Linked DNA regions of Homo sapiens: regions 2 and 3 are each linked to region 1. Evidence: promoter capture Hi-C in human tissues and cell types (Jung and others, 2019). All regions are on one chromosome and are shown on one strand. The core of a region is centred on a gene start or on the middle of the fragment in contact, and the rest is flanking DNA. Distances in the headings are between cores, read along the strand shown.

Region 1 (2,665 bases), core at 76-2,575:
GAGCCACCGTGCCCGGCCCAGGGAGCTCTTAATACATATTAACTGTTACTGCTTCTTAGGATGTTAATAAGTTCTTTCCTTATGTAGGCCCTTAGGGCCCGTTTCTGAATGGCCTATGTGTAAATACAAGGACTTAACACAAGGCTATGGCCCATTCCTTGCTCTCCAGGAGTCAAATCTCGGCGATTTTGCATCAGTGGCAGCCTAAGCGTTACAGCAGGAAAGAACTCCACAAAGTGTCTCACGCTTCATTTAATCTGAAGAATATTACAGGCTCTCCGTCTTCAGATATAAATTATTTATAACGTTACAGAACAAGCAGCGAATTCAACCACTTAAGAACTAAGGAAGTCTACATGGTGTTAATTGCTGGCCACAGTCCTCCCGATCTGGTTTTTTAAAAAAGTCCCCCGGGCCCCCATTTCAGTAGACGTGCACCATGCCGTAGAGGAACGTCCAGAACAGGACGTAGGTGAAGAGGCCCCCGATGAGGCCTCCTGTAAAGAGAGGTCTCCGTGATTTGAAATATTTGTTCCACCTCCTTCCCGCCTTGAGAATGAGGAGCAGGGAGAGCAGGACGGAGGCGAGCAGGTAGAAGATGAAGCCGTAGAGGCCGGTGAGGCCGAGGATGCCGGCCGTGGCCCCCGACAGCGCTGACACCGAGGTCCGGCAATAATCCAGGACGGCGGCGTTGCCCCGCACGGCCGCCTCGCTGATGAACGGCGGCCCTTCCCGCTTGGCCACCACCGCGGCCATCGCACCAGCCCGGGCTCGGCCTCTCGCTTTCTCGCGGAACAACGCGGAGCTGCGGAGAAAACCAAGTTACAAGTGGCGCCCGGAGCTCGGTGAGTTGGGTTCACGCCGCCCCCTCCCCCTGGAGCTTCCGAGACCTGGCACCAGTCCTGGGCCTCGGATCTTCCAAAGACGCCGAGGAGATTGAGGGTCCGGGCCGGCCGGGAGGTGGTGGCGCGTCTGCGTTCCCCGGCCACGGTGGCCCAGTTACCTGGAACACGGCGCCGGACACACTACTTAGCGTTCCCTCAGACGGGCAGTGGAAGAAATGCCCGCGGCGCCATCTTGCTCGGAAGACTGCCGGGAGGTCTCGGGCTGCGCACGCGCCCAGATCCCGCCCCGCCCTCCGCGCCTGCGCCGTGGGCGCCCCGGACACGCTCCGCCCTCTGCCCGCTTTTCTGCGCACGCGCAGGGACTTCCGAAAGCGGAGTGGCGCTCCGGCCAGTGATTGGCTGGAGGTTTGTTAACTATTCATGAGGGGGCGGGCCGAGCGGGGCGGCCTTTGTTAAGCAGCGAGGGCGCGACCGCGGGTACTCTGCTGCCGGCTTCTCGGAGCGGCGCTGGGCGACCAGAGCAGGGTCGAGATGTCCTACATCCCGGGCCAGCCGGTCACCGCCGTGGTGGTGAGTGCGCTTGCGCGGGCTCCTCCTCGTCTTGGCCTGACCCCACCTCGCAGAGCGGGAAACGGACACCCCAAGCAGGTTGACAGAGCATCGAACCCGGGGCTCCTGCGAACCGGCGGCAAGGGCTCGGGTCCCCGCTTTGCCGGAGCGGGCCGCAGTTCCCCCAGCCACGAAACAGGGATGGCCGGGACCCGAGAGCCTCCCGAGACCCTGGACAGAGCCCAGACTGCGTGCGCAGGGCGGGGAGGGCCACGGGGAAAGGCCTGGCTGCAGGAGCCTGGAAAAGCGCCCCCTTCCCGGGCCTCCGTGTCCCCAGACGGGGAGCTGCTGGGGGCGGGCGCCGATCCCGACGTCCATGAGTCGCAGCCTCTGGAATGAGGAAATGCTTCCTCCGCTGCAGCCTGCGCCGCCGCCCGGAGGGAGATCTGGGGGTGGGGCTCTCCCGAGCCTGCCGTGGCAGCCCCTGCCCCCTTCCTGTCCAGCCTTGCTCCTCCAACCCACTCGCCGCCTGGTCCAGGGTGGACGCTCGTATAGCTGCGATGAGCGTTTCCTCTTCGAACTTTTCCTGGGTCTCCAGCCCTTAAGGCAAAAAAGTCCAGGCCTCCCTCCTGGCACTTGAGTCCTGAGTAGACCCTCCGGGGGCTAGCCTAGGCCCCTGGCCGCCCTCTGGCTTGTTTTAGGTGCTGGGTGCTATTAGACTAGGCAGAGGGAGGAAGGAAGGCTGGGACGTTAGACTCAGACGCCGGTGTCACAGAGGGACACAACCCTATGACAGAGGTGGGGAGTCCCAGAGAGAAGTGCTCAGCCAGAAAAGACCACCTCAGGAAAGACTCAGGTCTCCTGCCTACCTCCCGACAGCGTTCAGAGAATGAGAAGAAATGCCTGCCCGGTGGGCAGTAGGTCAAGCGAAAGTCCCCGCCCTGGAGCCATAGGGACTGGGTGTGTTATCTCAGTTGGGTGTGCTGGAGAAGCTCCAGCAATCAGGTGGGTGGAGGCAGAGAAGCCACTGATAAAGGCGACAAGTGAGGCTGAGCTTAGAGCACTGGCTCAGGCCTGGGCCAGGAGGAAACATTGCTGGACCAGCTGACAGCTGTCCTAAGCTTCACCCTCCCTGCACCAGCTTGACTTTTTTTTTTTTTTTTTTTTTGAGACAGTCTTGCTCTGTCGCCCAGGCTGGAGTACAGTGGCGCGATCTCGGTTCATTGCAACCTCCGCCTCCTGGGTTCAAGCGATTCTCCTGCCTCAGCCTC
Region 2 (2,665 bases), core at 105-2,604, 660 kb after region 1:
CATTTCTCAAAATGTGGCCTGCACGTGCTCTACGTCCATCTGACGTCGGTACAGCAAGTATCATCACTTTTCATTGCATTACGGACCAATAACAACCTCATCAACAGCTGGCAGTAACTGAGAATGGCACTGGAAAATGGTCTAGAGATCAGCATCGTTCAAACATAACGTACAGCTCTTTCATCGTGAAAGCTGTTCTCGCAAGACTCCCGAGAATCTGCTCACAGACCCCCAACCCCAGTGGCCCCATGGGCTGCGTATGCAGTGCTGACTTCAGGCCTTACCTATTTACCCTATAGGAACATCTCTTAATTTGGAGTGATCACTGCAAACTTTAGGTTTGTTTTTTTTTTTTTTTTTTTTTTTTTTGAGACACAGTCTGGATCTGCTGTGCAGTGGCGCAATCTCAGCTCACTGCAACCTCCACCTCCCAGGTTTGAGCAATTCTCCTGCCCCAGCCTCCCAAGTAGCTGGGATTACAGGTGTGCACCACCACGCCCATCTGATTTTTGTATTTTTAGTAGAGACAGGGTTTCACCACGTTGGCCAGGCTGGTCTCGAACTCCTGACCTCAGGTGATCCACCTGCCTCGGCCTCCCAAAGTGCTGGGATTACAGACGTGAGCCACCGCGCCCAGCCAAACGTTCAGTCTTTATAATTGGAAGGTTTTTTTTTTTAGATCTAAGTGAAAATGCAAACTTTAGAAGTGTTTGTAGAACCAGCAGATTCCTGAGACTATCTCCAAGCAGTTCAGCTTGAAAAGTAGGTCTAGATGTCCAAAAGCCAACTGTTCTGTGTCTCATGGGAGAAACGCTTCCATTACAGCTGGGAGGACAGAAGTGAGCTGTAAGGAACTGCTCCAAGCGGGGTGAGGTGCCAGGCGGCACAACACAGGGCAATGGCAGGCCTGCTGCTCAGGAGAAAGATCAAGGGTCAGTGCTGACGTGGGGGAGCAGCAGCCTCACCAGGGGCAAGGATGGATGGCTGAGATGGCTTTCAGCCCTGGGGATTCTCAGTTATGCTCCCATCAGCCTGGGAAATGAGAACTTTGACAGGAAGGAGGCCGGGCGCAGTGCCTCACGCCTGTAATCCCAGCACTTTGGGAGGCCAAGATGGGCGGATCACCTGATGTCAGGAGTTCAAGATCAGCCTGACCAAGATGGTGTCCCTACTAAAAATACAAAAAATTTAGCCATGTGTGGTGGCGGGCACCTGTAATCCCAGCTACTCGGGAGGCTGAGGCAGGAGAATCGCTTGAGCCCGGGAGGCAGAGGTTGCAGTGAGCCGAGGTCGCACCACTGCACTCCAGCCTGAGCCTGGGCAACAAGAGCAAAACTCCATCTCAAAAAAAAAAAAAAAAAAAAACTTTGACAGGAAGAGATAAAGGCCTGTAACTTTTCTTCCTGGAACATTTCAGGTATCACTTGTTTCAAGAGCGATCCCAGGAAGGTGTGGGTGAACTCCCTAAGCAACGTCCTGTTGACACAGCAGCACCGCCCAAGGTGCCCAGGAAAAAAAAATACCAAAACTAGGGATGGTTTCCTGAGCTGGGCCAGACACACAGGCCTGGCCACAGGCATGGCCTAAACACCAGAATCCACCCCAGGCCCCAGGGCTCCATTCGGCTGAGCCTGGCCTGTCCCCAGCTCAGGCCTCCATGCTTGGGAGATGTGAGGGCAATGACGAAAGGGACAGGGAACAGGAGCTCGTGCTCCCCAGGTGGGAGGGAAAAAAGCTGGTCACAAATGGCCGGGCGCGGTGGCTCACACCTGTAATCCCAGCACTTTGTGAGGCTGAGGTGGGCGGATCACCTGAGGTCAGGAGTTCGAGACCAGCCTGGCCAACATGGTGAAACCTCGTCTCTACTAAAAATACAAAAAGTTAGCCGGGCGTGGTGGCGGGCACCTATAATTCTAGCTACTCAGGAGGCTGAGGTAGGATAATCACTTGAACCCGGGAGGCAGAGGTTGCAGTGAGCCAAGATTGCACCACTGCACTCCAGCCTGGGTGACAAAGCAAGACCCTGCCTCAAAAAAAATTAAAAAATAAAAAAATTTAAAAAAAATCTGGTCACAACCGTCAGGGCCCTGAAGCTTACTCTGTGTGACTGTCACAGTCTCTCCCACGCCCCACGGTGCTACCTCAGGTAGGTGTGAGAGCAGAATCTGGAAGCAGGCCTGTCTTCAACCTACAGTTGCAGGGTTTTAGTATTGAAAAGAATTCCCTGGATCACTGGATCAAAGATGAGTCGTGATAAAGTCTTAAAGTGTTTCCTCTCTTGTAAGCCCCTCTAGGAATACGTCAGACCCCCTCGAGTCAAGCACAGATCAACTGCGACTCCTGCCAGAGGCGGGGGACTGGACAGAGCGGCCTCAGGCCACTCTCTTTATACCTGCCACCTGTATTTAGCTGCTGGACCACCTCCTCCATTGGGCACCATGGGCAGAGTGTCCACAGCCTACAAGCATCTCCAGGATATAGAAATACTTGAAACCTGAAAAACCAATTAACTCCAAAATACTACAAGAAACCTGCAAAACTCAAAACAAGTGCTTCATTAAATGTCTACAAAATACAACATTATGTTGGCTCCCCAACTGCAGCTCAACTTTTCTTTTTTTTTTTTTTTTTTTTTTTTGAGACAGTCTCGCCCTGTCTCCAGGCT
Region 3 (2,665 bases), core at 106-2,605, 580 kb after region 1:
TTCTGATTACTGGTGCATGCAGCCCCCAGTCACGTACCCCCTGCTTGCTCAATTGATCATGACTCTCTCACGCAGACCCCCTTAGAGTTGTGAGCCCTTAAAAGGGACAGGAATTGCTCACTGGGGGAGCTCAGCTCTTGAGACAGGAGTCTTGCCGATGCTCCTGGCCAAATAAACCCCTTCCTTCTTTAACTTGGTGTCTGAGGAGTTTGGTCTGCAGCTCTTCCTGCTAAAAAAGATACAGGATATGAAGGATATGAAAGCAAAAATCTTCAGTGAAATAGATAGCATAAATAAAAAACAATCACAACTTCTGGAAATGAAAGACATATTTAGAGAGATGTAAAATGCACTGGAAAGTCCCAGCAATAGAAACAAACAAGTAGCAGAAAGAACTTCAGAGTTCAAAGACAAGGCTTTCAAAAGCCCAACCCATCAAAGACAAAGAAAACAGAATTTTAAAAAATGAACAAAGCCTCCAAGAAGATTGTGATTATGTAAAATGGCCAAACCTAAGAATGACTGGTGTTCCCAAGGAAGAAGAGGAATCTGAAAGTTTTGAAAACATATTTGAGGGAATAATTGAGGAAAGCTTCCCTGGCCTTGTGAGACATTTAGACATCCAAATGCAAGAAGCTGAAAGAACAACTGGGAAATTCATCACAAAAAGATCATCACCTAGGCACATAGACATCAGGTTATCCAAAGTCAAGATGAAGGGAAGAATCTTAAGAGCTGTGAGGCAAAAGCATCAGGTAACGTATAAAGAAAAACCTATCAGGTTAATGGCAGATTTCTCAGCAGAAACCCTACAAGCTAGAAGGGATTAGGGTCCTATCTTTAGCCTCCTTAAACAAAACAATTACCAGCCAAGAATTTTGTATCCCATGAAACTAAGCTTCATAAATGAAGGAGAGATAGTCTTTTTCAGACAAACAAATGCTGAGAGAATTCGGCACTACCAAGCCAGCACTACAAGAACTTGTAAAAGGAGCTCTAAATCTTGAATCAAACCCTTGACATACACCAAAATAGAACCTCCTTCAGGCATGAATCTCACAGGACCTATAAAACAATAACAAAATGGAAAAATAAAACAAGCTCTTCAGGCCATCAATTAGCATGACAAATAGAATAGTAGCTCATATCTCAATAGTAATGTTGAATGTAAATGGCCTAAACACTCCACTTAAAAGATACAGAATGGTAGAATGGATAAGAATTCACCAACCTAGTACCTGCCATCCCCAAGAGACTCAGCTAACACATAAGGACTCACATAAACTTAAGGCAAAGAGGTAGAAAAAGATATTCCATACAAATGGTCACCAAAGCAAGCAGGAGTAGCTATTCTTAGACGAAACAGACATTAAACCCACAACAGTTAAAAAAGACAAAGACGGACACTACATAATGATAACAGGACTAGTACAAAAGGAAAACATCACAATCCTAAATATATATGCACCTAACACTGGAGCTGCCAAATTTATAAAACATTTACTACTAGACCTAAGAAATGAGATAGACAACAGCACAATAATAGTGGGGGATTCCATACTCCACTGTTAGCACTAGACATATCATCAAGACAGAAAGTCAACAAAGAAACAATGGACTTAAACTATATCCTAGAACAAATGAACTTAACAGATATTTATAGAACATTCTACCCAACAATTGCAGAATATGCATTCTACTTATCAGCACACGAAACATTCTCAAAGATAGACCATATCATGGGCCACAAAACAAGTCTCAATCAATTTAAGAAAATTGAAATTATATCAAGTACTCTCTCAGACCACACTGGAATAAAATTGGAAATCAACTCCTAAAGGAACCCACAAAACCATCCAAATACATGGAAATTAAATAACCTGCTCCTGAATGATTGTTGGGTCAACAACAAAATCAACAGGAAAACTTAAAAATTCTTTGAAATGAATGATAATAGGGACACAACCTATCAAAATCTCTGGAATACAGCAAAAGTAGTACTAAGAGAAAAGTTCACAGTATTATTACATTAAGAATTCTAAAAGAGCACAAATAGACAACCTAAGGTCACACCTCACGGAACTAGAGAAACAAGAACAAACCAAACCCAAACCCAGCAGACAAAGAGAAATAACAAAGATCAGAGGAGAACTGAAGGAAATTGAAAAATAAAAATAAAAATCATAAATGAAACAAGAAGCTGGTTCTTTGACAAGGTAAAAAAAAACTGATAGACCATTGGCAAGATTAACAAAGAAAATAAGAGAAAATTCAAATAAGCTCAATTAGAAAAACGTGGGAGATATTACAACTGATACCACAGAAATACAAAACATTATTCAAGGCTACTATGAATACCTTCATGCACACAAGCTGAAAAACCTACAGGAGATGGATAAATTCCTGAAAATGTACAACCCCCCTAGATTAAACTAGGAAGATATAGAAACTCTGAACAGACCAATAAGCAGCGATATTGAAATGATAATGAAAAAAATGACAACAAAATAAAGTCCAGGACCAGACAGATTCACAGTTGAATTGGTACCAATCCTATTGACACTATTACACAGGATAGAGAAAGAGGGAATTCTCCCTAAATCATTCTATGAAGCCAGTATCACTCTAATACCAAAACAAGGAAAGGACATCACAAAAAAAGAAA

What was found. Contacts are between HindIII fragments. The study calls those that stand out against the background at their distance.
Region 2: a fragment that was not itself captured here is called in contact with the fragment with the promoter of TAX1BP3 in region 1 in 1 of the 25 tissues and cell types used here (spleen).
Region 3: a contact is called between a fragment that was not itself captured here and the fragment with the promoter of TAX1BP3 in region 1, in 4 of the 25 tissues and cell types used here (dorsolateral prefrontal cortex, liver, mesendoderm cells and 1 more).

Annotation. Positions count from the first base shown.
Region 1 is chr17:3,667,238-3,669,902 of GRCh38, reverse strand. It overlaps TAX1BP3 (Tax1 binding protein 3), which reads left to right and starts at 1,325. Exons shown (of 4, transcript NM_014604.4): 1 at 1,325-1,415. The coding sequence starts at 1,377. EMC6 (ER membrane protein complex subunit 6) reads right to left here and starts at 1,091. Exons shown (of 2, transcript NM_031298.4): 1 at 1,004-1,091; 2 at 238-805. The coding sequence starts at 756. The coding sequence ends at 424. It overlaps P2RX5-TAX1BP3 (P2RX5-TAX1BP3 readthrough (NMD candidate)), which reads left to right. Exons shown (of 15, transcript NR_037928.1): 12 at 1-845. RefSeq lists enhancers at 1-405, 406-936, 1,469-1,999, 2,000-2,531 and a silencer at 1,038-1,377. The HindIII fragment of the contact is 19,427 bases long and covers 1-2,665 here.
Region 2 is chr17:3,010,310-3,012,974 of GRCh38, reverse strand. All of the region lies in intron 17 of RAP1GAP2 (RAP1 GTPase activating protein 2), which reads right to left. Among named protein-coding and RNA genes, the nearest start is that of RAP1GAP2-AS1, 46 kb to the right of the region's middle. RefSeq lists an enhancer at 1,695-2,196. The HindIII fragment of the contact is 3,054 bases long and covers 1-2,665 here.
Region 3 is chr17:3,085,999-3,088,663 of GRCh38, reverse strand. It overlaps OR1D2 (olfactory receptor family 1 subfamily D member 2), which reads left to right. Exons shown (of 2, transcript NM_002548.3): 2 at 1-180. Among named protein-coding and RNA genes, the nearest start is that of OR1D2, 17 kb to the left of the region's middle. The HindIII fragment of the contact is 7,207 bases long and covers 1-2,665 here.